2 separate regions of the Homo sapiens genome follow, and region 1 is linked to region 2. The links are contacts of gene promoters, found by promoter capture Hi-C in human tissues and cell types (Jung and others, 2019). All regions are on one chromosome and are shown on one strand. Each heading gives the region's core, a stretch centred on a gene start or on the middle of the fragment in contact. The rest is flanking DNA. Distances are from core to core; before and after follow the strand shown.

What was found. The method cuts DNA at HindIII sites, captures the fragments that hold promoters and counts their contacts. A contact is called where the count stands out against the background at its distance.
Region 1: a fragment that was not itself captured here is called in contact with the fragment with the promoter of SLC13A2 in region 2 in 3 of the 25 tissues and cell types used here (IMR-90 fibroblasts, dorsolateral prefrontal cortex and stomach).

Annotation. Positions count from the first base shown.
Region 1 is chr17:28,431,826-28,437,722 of GRCh38, forward strand. No RefSeq gene overlaps it. Among named protein-coding and RNA genes, the nearest start is that of SLC46A1, 29 kb to the left of the region's middle. The HindIII fragment of the contact is 3,392 bases long and covers 1,153-4,544 here.
Region 2 is chr17:28,472,363-28,477,857 of GRCh38, forward strand. SLC13A2 (solute carrier family 13 member 2) reads left to right here and starts at 1,282. Exons shown (of 12, transcript NM_003984.4): 1 at 1,282-1,452. The coding sequence starts at 1,351. The HindIII fragment of the contact is 27,138 bases long and covers 1-5,495 here.

The DNA of each region.
Region 1 (5,897 bases), core at 1,599-4,098, 39 kb before region 2:
GAGATGGGGTCTTGCCACATCTTGAACTCCTGGGCTCAAGTGATCCTCCCACCTTGACTTCCCAAAGTGCTGGGATTAGTGCTGAGATTACGGGCATGAGCCACCATGCCCAGCCCTCTTTGAGCCACTTGATATCTACCAATAACTTTCTTTCTGCTTAAATCAGGTAGAATAGATGCTGTGGATCACAATTAGGAACCAAGCCTAACAATAGAAGATCCAACAGTTGCTAATGGATCATATCTACTCCACGTGGAAGAATAGGAAAACCTGGACTCTCTCTCTCTCTCTCAGGTCCTTCCTGTCAGCATTTACGCATGCTAAATTGATCTCATCTTTTAAAAAATTCTCTTAGCCATATACTCTCCTCCACCCCATTCTCTCCTACTTGTCTCAAATAGATAGATGATAGATAAATTTGGCTTTGTTGTGTTTTGCTTTTTTATAAAAGTAAACCAAATTCAGAGGACAGGCTAAACATCATCTGTGTTGACTGGACACAGATGAAGAGTGAATTAGTGAAATGAAGAACTGAAGATAGAGCTGAAGAAATACTCAGAATTCAGCACAAAGGCAAATAAAATAGAGGTATAAAACCTACAGGATAGAATAAAGTATGAAGTCTAACATAGGTCTACTCTGAATTCTAGGAGGAGCGTCTAGAGTAGACCTTTTAAAAAAATGTTTAGAGACAGAGTGTTGCTATGTTGCCCATGCCCAGCTCTTTGCAGAGGTATTGGCTGAGTCGTTTCCAGAATTCATGAAAGACGCAAATCATTCAATTCATAGGTCCATGTAGGATAATAAGTGATCCTGGAAAAAAGGTTTGGGATGAAAGAAGGAGTTGTGTGCCAATGAATTGATAAGCAAGTAGGTATATCAAACATTAACTGCACAAAAGATAAATAATAATGTTTAACTTGAGGGAAGCTATGAAAAATAACTAGATAGAAATAAGATAATGGACTATATGAGACAAAAGGGGATGATTGGTATGAGGAGAATGGTAGAGAACTTGAATAATTTTAGATTTTAGATAAAGTATGCATGTCAAATGATTAATATTCTAAAAGAGGGGAAATAGAGTTTATAACCTCCAAACCAAAGAGGGAGAGGAAGAATTAAATTTGAAAAGTAAGATATTTCCAAGTTAAGATGCAAAATCAACTAATCTTCCAAGTTAAGGTGCACACACAACTAATCTATCTCACTTCCAACCAAAAGCCCCAATTTAAAGTGGTATATATAATATATATATAGTATATTATTATTATACAATATATATTATATTATTATACAATATATTATATGGTATATATGTATATATAATGTATATATAATATAATATATATATATATATATAATATGTATGTATATATTTGAGACTGAGTCTCACTCTATTTCCCAGGCTGAAGTGCAGTGGTACAATCTCAGCTCACTGCAACCTCCACCACCTGGGCTCAAGCAATTCTCCTGCCTCAGCCTCCCGAGTATCTGGGACTACAGGTGCCCACCACCACACCTGGCTAATTTTTGTGTTTTTAGTAGAGACGGGATTTCTCCATGTTGGCCAGGCTGGACTCGAACTCCTGACCTCAAGTCTTGCCTGCCTCGGCCTCCCAAAGTGCTGGGATTACAGGCATGAGCCACCGCGCCTGGTCTCAATATATATTTTTAAATATTTATTTTTAAAAAATTAATGGAAGGGAGAAGAGTTGGGGAAGGGAAGACAACAACAGTAACAGTTTGGAAGACATGAACATATGGGCCAAATGACTTAACAACATAGAGAAGAATTCTGAGACAGCAGTGGGCCACCAACCACATTCTCACCATAGAATCCTCAAAATACTTAGTAATTGGAAACTACAGGCAACTCTAAAATTGGAGAGGGTATGAGAGAGGAATTTAAAATAAGGAGGATTAGGTAAAAGCTGAGAAGTAGTTAGATGCCAAATCCCCTCCAGTATTCCACACCATGGCAGTACTGCCTCTCCTAACCCTAGCAGATGACTGGGGGATTATTCTTGAAAGAAGGAACAACAGAAGGTCTCTGCCTGGAGGGAGGCTGATGAGCACAGCTGAAGACACGCTGCAAGTTGGGATTATGTGACTGTAGACATACTGAAAGCTAAGACTTCCCCTAACCCTTTTCTGCCACTGGGCTCCCAGAATGCTAAAGTGAAACCTATATCCTTTAATTGGAAGATTAGAAGAGTCTTTTCTGAGGAATATGAACAGTCACAGAAAAAAGACCCAAAGATACAGAAACTTTGGGTTTCCAAACAAATGACCAATCCAGGTCACCACAGTGAAACTCACTGTGACTTCATGGACTCAGAGTATCTAATTTTTCCCCAATTCTTTTTTTTTTTTTTTTTTGAGATGGAGTTTTGCTCTTATTGCCCAGGCTGGAGTGCAATGGTACGATCTCAGCTCACCGCAACCTCCACCTCCCAGTTTCAAGCAGTTCTCCTGCCTCAGCCTCCTGAGTAGTTGGGATTACAGGCATGTGCCACCACGCCCGGCTAATTTTGTATTTTTAGTAGTGACAGGGTTTCTCCACGTTGGTCAGGCTGGTCTCGAACTCCCAACCTCAGGTGATCTGCCTGCCTTGGCCTCCCAAAGTGCTGGGATTACAGGCGTGAGCCGCTGCACCCGGCCACTCTCCCCACTCTTAATCATAACAAAATGACCATGGATTATGAGATAAGCCTGGACCTGAGATAAGCCTCTAACATTGTAGGGAGGGACTAAAGCAAACAGGAAAAGCACTCAGAAGAAATAGAAACTATACAAGAAAAAAACCTCCAAATTTCCAAACAACCCTGTTATTAGGCACAGTGGTACACACCTGTAGTTCCAGCTACTCGTGAGGGCTGAAGTGAGAGGATCCCTTGAGCCCAGGAGTTCGAGACCAGCCTGGGCAACATAGCAAGACCCTATCTCAGCAAAACAAAACAAAAAACCTGTTTTTAATGTCATTAGAGAGATAAGAGAAAATATTACATCTATGAAACAAGAACAGGATGCTATTAAAAAAAGCATTAAAATAATAAAAAAAAGTGGTAGTAGAAATGCAAAACTCGAGAGAAAGTTGAGGAAATCCCTAAAATACTAAAGCAAAAAGAAAAGATGGGAAAAAGAGAGAGACAGCCCAGGAAGCCCAGAATCCAAATAATCCAAAAAGAGAGAAAATAAAAATTAAAGGGAAGAACACATCAATGAAATTATTCAAGAAAATGTCTCAGAATTGGAGGATGTAGATTGACAGAACCCACAGAATGTTCAGCATAATTGTTAAAATAGACCCACTCCAGTGCATATTATTGTCACATTGTAGGGTCTTCAAGACAAAGAGATAACCTTCAAGTTTCCCAAATGAAAACAAAAAAGCTTTCACAAGAAGATCAGGAACCAGAATGACTTTAGAATTCCCAGAAGAGATACTTGAAGCAGAAAGGCAATGAAGCAATAACTTCAAAATTCTGAAGAAAAATTATTTCCAACCTCGAATTCATTTTTGGTTTGTTTGTTTGTTTGTTTGAGACAGAGTTTTGCTCTTGTTGTCCAGGCTGGAGTGCAATGGTGTGACCTTGGCTCACCGCAACCTCTGCCTCCTGGGTTCAAGGGATTCTCCTACCTCAGCCTCCCGAGTAGCTGGAATTACTGGCACCCACCATCATGCCTGGCTAATTTTTTTTTTTTTTGGTACTTGTGTAGAAAAGGGGTTTCACCATGTTGCCCAGGCTGGTCTACAATTCCTGACCTCAGGTGATCCACCTGCCTCCGCCTCCCAAAGTGCTGGGATTACAGGCATGAGCCACCACACCCGGCCACATTCATATTTTATTCATCAATTTTGGACTTCAGCTATCAACTTCGTATTAGAGTATAATTTGAATACAATATAACTATACTGGAAAGATTTAGCTCTCTTAAATCAAATAAGATTATATTATAATTTTAAATTAAATCAAGATTCAGTGTTTACATTAGAATGTTCATGCAAATATTCATAGTTGGGTAATGTATATGATGATTATGATTCCTTTCTTAGTTTTGGCTTTTTCCTAAAGTTAATAATTGCCTAGTGTTTTCATTAGCTTGGTTTCCTTTGTATGTATCACTAACCCTTCTCACACCATCTAAGAGCCTCTTGAGAGCCAGGCCCGGCAGCTTGAACCTGTAATCCCAGCTACTCAGGAGGCTGAGCTGGGAGAATAGCTTGAGCTAAGGAGTTTGAGACTACCCTGGGCAACAAAGTGAGACCCTGTCTCTAAAATAAAAATGAACAAATAAAACATTTTTTAAAAGCCTCTTGGTACAATTTTCCAAAAGTTTAGTCACATCAGGTGATCCATCACTTCCATATCATTTCTTGGAGAGCTTTATTTTCCTCCATCAAGGAGACCTTGAATCTTCTTCAATCTAGGCTAGTTGATCTCTGGACATGCTGCACTGCTAGGGTCTTCCCTTGTTATCGCCTTGTAATACTCTTTCCCTTTTTCCTGAGTTGGGTTTCATGCCTTCCTCCTTGACTTACTTCTTCTTTTTTTTTTTTTTTTTTTTTTTTTTTTGAGACAGAGTCTCACTCTGTTGCCCAGGCTGGAGTGCAGTGGCAGATCTCAACTCACTGCAACCTCCACCTCCTGGGCTCAAGTGATTCTCCTGCCTCAGCCTCCAGAGTAGCTGGGACTACAGGTGTGCGCTACCACACCCCGCTAATTTTTGTATTTTTAGTAGAGACGGGGTTTCACCATGTTGGCCAGGATGGTCTCCATCTCTCGACCTCGTGATCCACCCATCTCGTCCTCCCAAAGTGCTGGGATTACAGGCGTGAGCCACCGCGCCCGGCCGATTTACTTCCTTTTTGTGGGTCACATTCACTAGCAGAGGGCATGGTTATTATAACCCTCAATTACGTCCACGTGCCTCATGAGTCACACTGCTCCAACGTGAACAAGCTGTCCTCTCTGGAGCACAAGCGTCATCTTAGGATCTGCCTTTGTCATCATTCTGGAAATTCCCATACCTTCCCTTCTGTGTCGTATCTCTTATTTCATGCATCTACTTGCTGTTTCCTAATTTATACTCTCATTTTGGTAGAGGACAACTTCTAATAGCTTGTCGAGAAAGGGTGTATGAAGTAACTTCTGAGATATTGCATATCTGAAACTGTCTGATTCTACCTTCACACTGAAGCAATAGCTTGTTTGGTTAAAGAATTCGAGGTTGGAGGCCGAGCGTGGGTGGTTCGCGCCTGTAATCCCAGCACTTTGGGAGGCCGAGGTGGGCAGATCACCTGAAGTCAGGAGTTCCATACAAGCCTGACCAACATGTAGAAACTCCGTCTCTACTAAAAATACAAAATTAGCTGGGCGTGGTGGCACATGCCTGTGATCCCAGCTACTCGGGAGGTCGAGTCAGGAGAATTGCTTGAACCTCGGAAGCAAAGGTTGCAGTGAGCCGGAATCGCGCCATTGCACTCCAGCCTGGGCAACAAGAGTGAAACTCCGTCTCAAAATATATATATATATATACACACACACACATATATACTATTTAGAAACAAAGATAATATAAATATAAATGTCAAAATAAATGGTGGAAAGAGTTGGAAATGGCTGATGTTGAGGAAGGTGACTAAGGGAGTGAAGAGGGGTGGACAGGAAACTACCATTTTTTTAAGCTTCTCAGAATATTTGGGTATTTAAATGTCTATGATGTAAACACACCTTCAGCTTGAACTTGAAGGACAGAAAAATATATAACAAGCAAACACAACTACAAGGACAAACTGACAAGGATACTTGACACAGATTAACTTCCATCCTTATACGAGACTTTAGCACACATTTATCAGTAAGTTATAGATCAAGCAAATATAAAATTCA
Region 2 (5,495 bases), core at 32-2,531:
TCCGTTCAACATACATACACACACACACGCATGCACTTGCCACCCTCCAGGCCTTCGTTCACTCTTCCCTCTCCTTGTGCCCCTTCCCCTATCACCTCGTGCCAAGTAAGACTGAGCTCTCAAGCCTTCGCTCAGATGCCATCTCTTCCAGGAGCCCTTGCCTGGTGCCTTTCACCCAGAGCTTCTGCCCTGGTTTGGACCTCCCTCAGGATACCCATAATGCATGTGTGAATTCTGGCTGGCTCCATGTCCTTTGGCCTCAGTTCCCCCATCTGTTAAATGGAATAGTAACACCTAACCCATGGTGTAGTTACCGAGTTGATGAAGTACAGTAACTGACTTGTACTAAGTGCTGAGCAAATGTCAGTCTTTACCACCAGCAGCAGCAGCAGCATTTTAATCTCTGTATCTTTAGCACTGAGCACAGGGCTGAATACATAATTGGTACTAAATACTTGCTTGGTGGAGGGATGGATGGATGGATGGTTGGATGGATGGATGGATGGATGGATGGATGATGGATAAATGAGAGATCTAGTATGTTTCCAAAATAAGAGACAATCTTTGCTGGGGGGCGAGGGGGCTAGGAAGAGCCTGAAAGAAACTAACCTTCATCGTACACCTGCCATGCATCAAAGCTCAACATATATAAGTTGTCTAATTTGAGCCTCACAATAGCAAGATATTACTGCAGAATAAGGAAGTGGCTAATTCTGAGAGGTTAAGTCGGTGGATCAGTGTCACACAAGATGTAGTCAGGACCAGGGACTTTGATGGTCCTCGATACCTGGAAGGAGGAGGAGGAGGACTTGCTCCAGGCCTTAGCTACTGTCAATCTTAGACTGAAAATTCCTAGGGCATCTCTGTGGGCAGGGCAGGGCCACCCCACCCAGGCTGTCACATAAAGTGCTCAGCTGAGAACCTAGCTTTGGAGAACAGCAGAAAGGAAAGGCCGGGCCAGCGGAGGTGGCTTGGGGGCTGCCTGTGGAGGGTGGCTGGGGGACTCTCCTTCCTTCTCCAGCTCCTCCAGCACCACCCTCAGCAGCCTCCAAGAACAGAAGGAGTTAACGCTGGGATTAACTTCTTGAAGGAACCTGAAGTTTTTTAATCCTTGTTCTTTCCTCCTTCCTTCTCCCTCTCCCTTCCTGATCTTTACTCCGCCTGTGGGTCCCTCCTCCTTACTCTCACCTCCCCAACTCCAAAAACACTCTGATTGCCAGACTGGGTCAATGGTTAACACTCAACTGGCTTTATATAAGCCTGCCACCTGCCTGCTTGGCTGCATCTTTGGTCCTTCTGTTACCCAGCTCCTGGAGGCAGTGGCTGTAGCAGCCCTTGCTGCTCCACACCATGGCCACCTGCTGGCAGGCCCTGTGGGCCTATCGCTCCTACCTGATCGTGTTCTTCGTGCCCATTCTCCTGCTGCCTCTGCCCATCCTCGTCCCCAGTAAGGTAAGGACTTGGTGTTCTGAGCACAGATAACTCCAGGGGGCAGAGGAGGGACTGTCTGGGCCGGGGTTGGGCATCCTTAGGATCCAGCATAACTTCCTCACTGCCCCTGCCCTGGAAGTGAGGCTATCGCCCCCTGCTCCTCCTGAGGACTGAGGGCTAGGAGGTCAAAGGGGCTTTTGCTTGGCACCCAGTTGTAGGAGCCCAGCGTGAATTACTTAGGTGGGTTTGCAACCTACTGCCCTAGGAAACAGGAAACCAGTTCCATCAACAAGATGCAAGGGGGGCAGATGGAGCTGATCTACCTACTGTGTGCCCACCTAGCCCTGGACTGGGCTCCATGGCGGCTGAGATGGGCTGGCTGTGGGGAGGGGACGGCTGGGTAAGCAGCAGCAGAGTGAAGAGGGTTGGAAGGAGAATAGGAGAAAGCTGGCTGCAGGCGGTCTGCATCTTTAAGAGCATAAACAGGAAGAGAAAGAGTTCACCTGTGGATTCAAGGGCTAAGTCTGTGGAGGAGGAGGGGTGGGAGTTGGAAGAGGGGACCGCTGCAGGTAGACAGCACAAAAACTGTGCCCTGGATGGAGGGGGAGCTGGGCACAACCAGGCGTCACTGCCTCCTCCTCCGCCCCCAGCAGAAGTCATAACTTCATCTCTCATTAAATCAAGCCGCCAATGCCTGCCCTGCCCTAGGCACCCAGTAACCTTTTCCACCATCTTAAGAGGTCAGGCCTGACTGTCCCATTTGACAAATGGGGAAGGTGAGGTTAAGTCACTTAGTCAAAGTCCCAGGGCAGATCCAAGTTTCATGGAACTTGGATATTATACACTTTTGGGCCCCACTCTGTAAGAAAAAGGACACAAAAGTATTAATCTGAAATTAGTTTGGGGCTTTGGGAAGGGTCCAGGGGGAAGGCCTTGAAGTTCAATCTTCAGTCAGTCGGCCTCTGGCAAATCACACAGCTGGGAGGTTCAGAGCTGGGGGTGTGATCTGGTGCCAAAGCATGTCTTCTCTCCACCCTGCTGCCTCCTGCCCCACCCCACACCCCCAGAACTGCCCATCAAGCCATTTTCTTCCTTTTGTCATAGATAGAGAAATTGAGTCAGACTTTTTTGTTCATGGTATCCCAAAGGGGTGAGAGACTGGGGGTGATAGTGGCACAGCCCCTGGGCCCCTGACACCTGGTCAGTAACAAGGCCCAGCTGACCTTTGAGATGACCTTCATCTCAGGCCAAAGCCGGTGGCATCTCAGTGCTAGGGACCCATCAGATGGGTTTTCCGACAGGCTGGGGCAAGTGTGTTAACCCCAGGAGGGAAGCCAGACAGGGATTTTGATTTCTTCCCAATTCCCCTCGACCTGGGGAAGCACAGCACAGAAAGATTCAGTAACTTGCCCAGGTCACACAGGAAATCCTGAGTCAGTGCTAGAAGCCATGCCTGTTGGTGAGACTGGGATGTGTTAGGAGCCCCTGTCTTCTGTGCACCGTATCTGGCCCTGCTACCTGCCTCTGGCTCACAGATGCTGCCAGCCCCATCCTGACTCTGGTCCTGTCTAGGAGAGGCCAGCCCCTCTCAAGGACTTTGCTCCTGCAATTGTCCTCTCACTCTCCTACAAGATAAATATTTCCTCTCTGCCTGATCTCCCCCATCCACATACGGAGGTGCTGTAATATCTCTCATCTTAAACAAACAAGAGCTCTCTTTCAAGGCCACGCTCCTTCCAGGATAGTGCCTCTTTCTCTGCTCTCTCTCATAACAGGAAGTCTCAAGACACTGTCTACACCACAAGCGCACTTTCTCTTTTGTCAGCTCCCATCTCCAAGACTCAGATCCCATCAACTTCCTTGTGACCAAACCCTGGGCCACCCTCACATTCCTCAGTCCCTCGGCAGCATTTGTCACAGCTGTCACCCCGTCTTTGCCGTGCTGTCTTCTCTTGGCTTTGGTGACACCTTCTCCTGGTTCCTGCCCAGCCCTGCCCCTTCCCACCTTTCCTGACTCTGAGGTTCCTTCTCCATCTGACTCTGAGGTTTTCCAGGGTCCCCACTTCCCCTAGCTGATCTTATGCCATCTCGTGCTTTAAAAAGCATCTCTATGCCAATGAGTTATCAATCTGTAACCCCAGCCCTAAACTCTAAACTGGTATTATCCAATGAACACCAGCCATCTCCCTAATTGAATATTTTCTTTGTAAGCAGGATAAGCAGGTTACACTTTTCCACGTCCAAACCAAAACCCTTCCTGCCCTTCTCCAGTTGGCTTAGGCATCAAGAAATGCTTCAACCATCTACCTTGCTGCAACAGCCAAAAACTCGGGGGCATTCTTGATTCTTCTCCTTCCCTCCTTTCCACGTGCAGCAGAAGGTCCTGCTCATTTGATACCCCAAAATACTCTGAATGGAGTCACTCCCCGCCCTCGGATCCACTGTCTCCCCGGTCATTTCCCATGTGTCCCACTCTGCTCAAAACCCTACATTGGCCAGGCGCAGTGGCTCACACCTATAATCCCAGCACTTTGTGAGGACGAGGCGGGAGAATTGCTTGAGCCCAGGAGTTTGAGACCAGCCTGGGCAACATAATGAGACCCCACCTTAATTTGAAAAAACAAACAAACAAAAAAACCCTACACTGGCTTCCTGTCAAACTTAGGATAAAACCTCTTCAAGCAGCCAGAAGTCACCAAGGCTCAGCCCTGGACTCCCCAGGCTCCCTCCCCCTGTGACCCACCTCTCGCTCACTCTCCCCCACCCTCACCAGCTTTCTTTCTGCTCCTCACATTGCTCTGGACTGCTCTCCCAGATACCTCCTTCCTGTTTTTAGGTTTCAGCTTAAATCCACCTCCTTAGAAAAGCCTTCTCTGACCAACCCCAGTCATTCTTGGGGAAAAGCCCTGTTCTTTTGTTTATAGGGTGTTTACTCTCTGAAATCATCTATTTGCTTATTTTTTACTTCCTCTCTGGCTTCCTGCACTAGAATGTCGGCTCCGTGAGGACAGGGACTTTGTCTTGTCCCATGCAGAATCCCCAGTGCCTGGCACAAAGTAGATGTTCAAAAAATACTTGTTAGGCCTGGCGCAGTGGCTCACGCCTATAATTCTAGCACTTTGGGAGGCCAAGGCAGGTGGATCACTTGAGGTCAGGAGTTTGAGACCAGCCTGGCCAACATGATGAAACCCCGTCTCTATAAAAAAAAACACAAAAATTAGCCAAGCATGGTGGTGCACACCTGTAATCCCAGCTACTCGGGAGGCTGAAGCAGGAGAAACGCTTGAACCCAGGAGGAGGAGGTTGCAGTGAGCTGAGATCACGCCATTGCACTCCAGTCTGGGTGACAGAGCAAGACTCTATCTCAAAAAAAACAAATAAAAAACACCCAAGTTTTTTGTTTTTTTTTTTTTTTTTTGAGACTGAGTCTCACTCTGTCACCCAGGCTGGAGTGCAGTGGCACAATCTTGGCTCACTGCAAGCTCCGCCTCCCAGGTTCATGCCATTCTCCTGCCTTAGCCTCCCGAGTAGCTGGGACTACAGTCACCTGCCACCACGCCCGGCTAATTTTTTTGTATTTTTAGTAGAGACGGGGTTTCACCGTGTTAGCCAGGATGGTCTTGATCTCCTGACCTCGTGATCCGCCCGCCTTGGCCTCCCAAAGTGCTGGGATTACAGGCGTGAGCCACCATGCCCGGCCACCCCCAACTTTTTGAATGAAGAAAGGAAGGAATGTGCACACAGTGGATCCTGACCTGCATCCCTGTTGAATCTCTACTCTCTGTAATGAGTCCCCAAGCTTAGCCCCATGGCCCTGGCCTCCAAAGGGGGAAGAAGGAGCCCCAGCCTAGGCTCAAATTTGTGCCCATAATAATAATATTGACATTTGTTGAGTATATTTTATGTGCTTGACATTATGCCATGCACTTCAAAGCATTGTTAGATCATTTATTCCTTTCAAAAGCCTATGTGTCGGGCTGGGCATGGTGGCTCATGCCTGTAATCCCAGCACTTTGGGAGGCGGGCGCCCAAGGTGGGCAGATCACCTGAGGTCAGGAGTTCGA